Regions from separate parts of the Homo sapiens genome. Here region 1 is linked to region 2. Evidence: promoter capture Hi-C in human tissues and cell types (Jung and others, 2019). All regions are on one chromosome and are shown on one strand. Each heading gives the region's core, a stretch centred on a gene start or on the middle of the fragment in contact. The rest is flanking DNA. Distances are from core to core; before and after follow the strand shown. Region 1 overlaps ASRGL1 (asparaginase and isoaspartyl peptidase 1). Region 2 holds the start of SCGB1D2 (secretoglobin family 1D member 2).

Region 1 (3,361 bases), core at 454-2,953, 130 kb after region 2:
CACAACTTTGCAAAGGAACTGTTAGACTGGAATTTAGGTCGATAGTATAAAATGGCTTACGATCTCTTGTTTCTGTAGTTTGATTTCCAGACCAAATTCTAATGCAGTATGAGGCCACAGTAAGCCTCCATAATTCTGGATGTTCAGGACCAGAAACAGGACTTAATATTTCTGGTCTTGGAGTAGAGATTCCTTTTTCTCCCCATTCCCAAGGGTAGAAAGACTGTAATTTTATGTGCTTCTGTTTGTCTAAACTTTCTGTTAAGTCACTATTAACAGCTGGACTCACTTGTGCACTGGGACACAATTGAGTTTGTCCTGTGCAATTGTGGTAGCATTGACCTCAAGGTGCCCAATCTGTAATAGTTCTGAATTCATCATTTTGTAATATCACCGCACTATTGGCCACACATTCTTCCCAAACTAAAACTTCTGTGTCTTTTGATCCTTTGGGAATTTCCGTGGGGCAAGGTTTTCCTTTAGGCCTAAATTTTAATGATCTTTGATAAGGAAAGTCCTGTAAATAATTTACCTGTGGCCTGTGTGACATTCTGTTTACCATGTGATAAGTAAGTCTACTGGTGGTACTGACAGTAGGTACTGCTACCAACCAATTTTGGATTGCAGCATTAAACATCCTGGCGCATTTTTAAGTGTATCTGAGTGGGCTGGAGCCCTCGTCTGGGCCAGGAAAAAAAAAAAAGCCCTCCGATCCGTCTTTTAGTTGCTTCTCTTCCTTTTTTCTCTCTGGTTTCTCATCACTCCAACCAGCCGCAACCATGCCCAGGAAGAAGGCGGCGGTGGCGGCCTGGGAGGAGCTGAGCTCGGGCAACGGCACTGCCCACGCCAGGGCCCAGGAAACGTGGCGGCCCCGCAGCCGGAAGCGCGAGCCTCCCGAGCGCTGCAGTAGCAGCAGTGGTGGCAGCAGCAGCAGCGGCGACGAGGACGGCCTGGAGCTCGACGGGGCCCCCGGCAGGGGCAAGCGCGCGGCGCAGCCTGTGGCAGCAGGCAAGGTGGGCGGTGCGGCTGTGGTGGTCGCCGAACCCGAGCACACCAAGAAGCACGTCAAACTTGAGACGTGCTGTGTTTACTCAAGGTTTAATGGATTTAGGGCTGTGCAGGCTGTGCTTTGTTAAAAAAGCGCTTGAAGGCAGTATGCTTGGTAAAAGTCATCACCATTCTCTAATCTCAAGTACCCAGGGACACAATACACTGCGGAAGGCCACAGGGACTTCCTCACAAAGTGCAAAGGGGAGCTTTTGATTTTGGGGGCAACCAACTGGGACTTGATTGGTCGAAAATAAGTGCCTAAACAAGGCCAGGAGTGGTGGCTCAGGCTTGTAATCCCAGCACTTTGGGAGGCCGAGGCGGGCAGATCACAAGGTCAGGAGATCCAGACCATCCTGGCTAACACGGTGAAACCCCGTCTCTACTAAAAATACAAAAAAAATTAGCCGGGCGTGGTGGCGGGCTCCTGTAGTCCCAGCTAATCAGGAGGCTGAGGCAGGAGAATGGCGTGAACCCGGGAGGCGGAGCTTGCAGTGGGCCGAGATCGCGCCACTGCACTCTAGCCTGGGCAACAGAGCAAGACTCCGTCTCAAAAAAAAAAAAAAAAAAAAAGTTCCTAAACAGGAAGCTGCGTACGGCAATATCCGTCAGAATTTGTGGGGACCCCATAGGTATGGGTGCCTGGCGGGGGTCCGGGTGCGGACAGTGGTCTCTGGCTCCTGTGCTGCACACAGCCTCCTCATCACCACAGAAGGAAAGCTGTGGAGCTGGGGTCGAAATGAGAAGGCGCAGCTGGGACATGGTGACACCAAGAGAGTAGAAGCCCCCAGACTCACCGAGGGTCTCAGCCACGAAGTGATTGTGTGCAGCGTGTGCGCGGAACCACACCTTGGCCTTGACGGAAACGGGCTCCGTGTTTGCGTTTGGGGAAAACAAGATGGGGCAGCTGGGCCTTGGCAACTAGACAGACGCTGTCCCCAGCCCTGTGCAGATAATGTACAACAGCCTGCCAATTACCAAAATGGCCTGTGAGGCTGCAAATCAGTATGATAATGGACTGCAAAGGAAACCTCTATTCCTTTGGGTGCCCTGAATATGGTCAGCTGGGACACAACTCAGATGGGAAGTTCATTGCCCGGGCACAGCAGATAGAGTATGACTGCAAACTAGTTCCCCAGCGAGTGGCCATCTTCATTGAGAAGACAAAAGACAGATTCTGCCTGTACCAAATATGGTTATGCGAGACGTGGCCTGTGGCGCTAACCACATGCTGGTCCTGGACTCCCAGAAGTGAGTCTTCTCCTGGGGCTTCAGTGGCTATGGCTGGCTGGGCTACACAGAGCAGAAGGATGAGATGGTCCCCCGCCTGGTGAAGCTATTTGACTTCCCTGGGCATGGGGCTTCCCAGATCTATGCTGGTTACACCTGCTCCTTTGCCGTCAGTGAAGTGGGTGGTCTGTTTTTCTGGGGGGCCACCAACACCTCCCATGAATCTACCATGTACCCAAAAGCAGTGCAGGACCTCTGCAGCTGGAGAATCTGGAGCCTGGCTTGTGGGAAGAGCAGCATCATTGTGGCAGCCGATGAGAGCACCATCAGCTGGGGCCCATCACCGACCTTTGGGGAACTGGGCTACAGGGATCACAAGCCCAAGTCTTCCACTGCAGCCCAGGAGGTGAAGACTCTGCATGGCATTTTCTCAGAGCCGGTCGCCATGGGCTACTCACACTCCTTGGTGATAGCAAGAGATGAAAGTGAAACTGAGAAAGAAAAGATCAAGAAACTGCCAGAATACAGCCCCCAAACCCTCTGATGCTCCCAGAGACTCCTCCGACTCCACACCTCTCATGGCAGCTGTCATTTCCATGTGCACTGGGACGGGAAGTCAAACAAGGAATTTAAAAAAGCAAAAGTGGACCGAAGGTGCATTTTTATTTAGACTCCCTGAGGTTCCGTTTTACAAGTGATCCAACGTTAACTACCTTTTTTTCTGTTTGCTTTCCAAAGACCCTTTTTTCCTCTTAATGTCGAATTAAAATACTTGCTCGTAGTTGACTTACCATTCCTACAAAGAGGCAGAAACTTTGAGCAATCTAGGTGTTTTTTTTTTCTTTCTTCCTCTCCTGAATACACTCCCCAAAACACTCCTTTCCAGTTATAATTAGCATCGTGATCTAAGTGGATGCTACATGGAAGAGGAATCGCCATTTACTCAGAAAAAATGTCCCTTACAGGAACCGGCAGCAGCTAGGCGAAGTCGCCGGCCCACCTCCATCCAAAATCATGCTCGCGTGCTTCGGAAGCATCCGGGTCACTCCTTTCCCGCTTTTTCTTGCAGATCGGCCTAGGCCGG
Region 2 (3,492 bases), core at 182-2,681:
CAATGATAGACTGGATTAAAAAAATGTGGCACATATACACCACGGAATACTATGCAGCCATAAAAAATGATGAGTTCATGTCCTTTGTAGGGACATGGATGAAGCTGGAAACCATCATTCTCAGCAAACTATCGCAAGGACAAAAAAACAAACACCGCGTGTTCTCACTCATAGGTGGGAATTGAACAATGAGAACACATGGACACAGGAAGGGGAACAGCACACACCAGGGACTGTTGTGGGGTGGGGGGAGGGGGGAGGGATAGCATTAGGAGATATACCTAATGTTAAATGATGAGTTAATTGGTGCAGCACACCAACATGGCACATGTATACATATGTAGCTAACCTGCACGTTGTGCACACGTACCCTAAAACTTAAAGTATAATAACAAAAAAGAGAGAGAAATTTCTAGTGATTGATTTCCTGCTCACACCACACAAAGGCATCACAGCAGGAGGGCAGGAGGGTGTGTATTGCTTTGTCTGGGTGCTTCCTTCCCTTTCTATTAAAAATGGGATTGGCTCAGGCTGCACAGCTAGATTTGAAGTGGAAAACTTGAGCCTAGAGGTTGGGGGGAAGTGACCACTCACCCTGATCATCTGTCTCTTCTTTTCCATCTTCTTCCCCTCCTGGAGCCCCAGAGCAAAGAACTCTCAGTACCTGTCCGATGCATGATTGGCTCTGGACACTCCAAAAGCTACTTGGAAAAAGTTAGGCTATGTAATCATCAGGTCAACCCATCAACATGTGGGTGGCTACACATCACAGAAAGCTTGCTCCTCGTAGAGAGAAAATGTGAGTCTTGGCCATATTTATAGCTGCACTCATAAACAAGACTCAGGTTTGGGAGTGAGACAGGCTAGAGAACAGGTGCAGCAGTTGCTTTTCCCCAGGAAATCCTCCAAAGGTAAGATGCATTGAACTAGGTTTTAGGTACCTATGCAGTGAACATGGTGGTGATGGGAGGGGCTGAGGGGAATAGGTCTTGTTTAGACTTGCTCAATGTGCAACTGAAACAAGCCTACTGGTTGTCAGACATGCAGGGGGATCAAAGCAGGGTTTCCTTATGTCCCTGCTCCCCCATAACCAGAACACAGCCTTCCAGCTTCCTGTGCCTTCCAAAGTCAGAATTTACCTGTGCCCTTGAACTGATACAAAGAAAAAAAATAATCAGCAAAACTCAGAAGGAAACAGAATCCCAGGAATATTTCCAGAGGTGCCTGAACATTCACCTGGAACACAGAGCAGAGTTCCTGCAGGGCTACCCTCCTGTGCTCTGCCCCAGTCAGAGTGCAGGGAGGCGTGGGGAGGTGACACAGATGGATGGCAACAGCCCTGGGAAGGAGAGGTGGGCTGGGAGCCAGGCCTCATGACCAGTACCAGCTAGACTCCCTAGGTACAAATAGCCCTGGGCTCTGCAGCTCCACAGGCTCCTGGGGTGGAGTCCAAATCACTCATTGTTTGTGAAAGCTGAGCTCACAGCAAAACAAGCCACCATGAAGCTGTCGGTGTGTCTCCTGCTGGTCACGCTGGCCCTCTGCTGCTACCAGGGTGAGTACATCAGTCATGAGTCTAGCTCCAGCCCCTGGGAAGCACCCTCTTCCAAGCACGAGGTCACCTATTCAGGCTGGGGTTAGGATCTGCACAAAACCAAAATTCCAAACCTTTTTCTGTGCTTGTTGAACAAGCCCCTCATCAAGTTCAGAGCTATTTCTTCTACTCCCCAGCACCTACGAAGTTTTATTGAAAATCAGTGCAGGCAAATATTAGGAATTCTTCTGCCTGAGCTTCACTCCTGGGTGGGATCTGTGTCAGATGATGTAATGTGAGGTCTGGGGTGAATCTGGGATCCGCCACTTCCCAGCCCTTTGACCTTGGGCACAATGCTCACCCTCCCTGAGCCTCCTCCTATCACTGGTAGTTAGCGCTTCTGCCAGGAGAGGCTATGAGAATGGAGTAAGAAAGATTAATACTGTCAAAAGAGTCTAGCTGTGGGCTAAGCATGGCGGCTCATGCCTGTAATCCTAGCACTTTGGAAGGTCAAGGAGAGTGAATTGCTTGAGCTCAGGAGTTTGAGTCCGGCCTAGGCAACGTGGCGAAACTCCAGCTTTACCAAAAGAAATATGAAAAATCAGCTGGACGTGGTGACATGCACCAGTAGTCTCAGCTACTTAGGGGGCTGAGATGGGGATATCGCTTGAGCCCAGGAGGTAGAGGCTGCAGTGAGCCATGATTGAGCTACTGAATTCCAGCCTGGGTGACAAAGGGAAAAAAAAGAGTTTGGCTGTTGATATGAAGTGCTTTCCTTTATTGTGAGAGCTTGAGGAAGTCACACCTGAAGGGTCTGGCATTGTCATCAGCACAACAAATGTATGTGAACATATAACCCAGGGGATCCTGTCTGGTCTAACGTCAGGGAGCCAAAGAGAAAAATCGACTTTCCTAACATCAACTATATTTTTATTCTTTTGCTGCAGCCAATGCCGAGTTCTGCCCAGCTCTTGTTTCTGAGCTGTTAGACTTCTTCTTCATTAGTGAACCTCTGTTCAAGTTAAGTCTTGCCAAATTTGATGCCCCTCCGGAAGCTGTTGCAGCCAAGTTAGGAGTGAAGAGATGCACGGATCAGATGTCCCTTCAGAAACGAAGCCTCATTGCGGAAGTCCTGGTAACTTCTTTCTCCTTTATTTGTTAAGGCTTCTGGTCAGCTGCACAGTATGAAGTGAGGTCAGCTTGCTGCTCTGTTGGGGACACAGGTGGTGGGGCAGCTGCCTTGCTGGTCACCTCTTGAGAAGGTCACCTGGGGCCACAGGGTGGGTGCCACCATTTCACCTGCAGAATTCAACTCAGCTGCACACAGCCTCCTGCATGTTCCTCCTTCTCATGTCACCTGCCTGGATGCCATGTCCCCAGAGTGTGCTGAGGACATGGGGAGTGAGCCTGGGCCCAGGCAGAAATGGTAAAGGGCCAAGCATGGCCGCCTCGCTGCTGGGAGCTTTCCTGAGACCAAACTGCCCTCATGTAATGGACACAGTCACTGTGGAATGTCCTGGGGAGCATGGGAGCCTTGAACAGGGAGAGGAAGGCAGGGAGGGACATAGAGCAGGGGCTCCTGCAGATGTAGCACTGGCAGGCTGGACTTCTCTGCAGCTTCTGCAGAGCCAGGAAGGAGCCCCTCCCAGCTCCTGAGACCCCATACTCCCCTCCACACCCACGACACTCTCCTGACCATGGCCAGTCGTCCAAGACCCTAGCTAGTCTACCTCCTGCAGTGCCATGGAAGCGGGATGTTCTCACTCTGTCTTTCTCAAGAAATCAGAGGTTTTCCAGGGGCCTCTCTGCCTGGCTGCCTCTGAGTTGCTGTCCTGAGGTTTAGCTGCAAATGCTCATGGAAGCTGCAGGCTCGGGACTGAGAGGTGCTCGGGCCCTGAGGCAGAATTCCCACATGGGGAGGCTGGAGTCTCCTGGAAGCCAAGCTTCCCAGAAGCCCT

Evidence for each region. The method cuts DNA at HindIII sites, captures the fragments that hold promoters and counts their contacts. A contact is called where the count stands out against the background at its distance.
Region 1: a fragment that was not itself captured here is called in contact with the fragment with the promoter of SCGB1D2 in region 2 in 1 of the 25 tissues and cell types used here (mesendoderm cells).

Annotation. Positions count from the first base shown.
Region 1 is chr11:62,370,355-62,373,715 of GRCh38, forward strand. The region is part of intron 4 of ASRGL1 (asparaginase and isoaspartyl peptidase 1); the gene reads left to right. It also overlaps the pseudogene RCC2P6. Among named protein-coding and RNA genes, the nearest start is that of ASRGL1, 35 kb to the left of the region's middle. RefSeq lists enhancers at 358-880, 881-1,403. The HindIII fragment of the contact is 5,556 bases long and covers 1-3,361 here.
Region 2 is chr11:62,240,808-62,244,299 of GRCh38, forward strand. It overlaps SCGB1D2 (secretoglobin family 1D member 2), which reads left to right and starts at 1,432. Exons shown (of 3, transcript NM_006551.4): 1 at 1,432-1,555; 2 at 2,482-2,669. The coding sequence starts at 1,501. The HindIII fragment of the contact is 7,638 bases long and covers 1-3,492 here.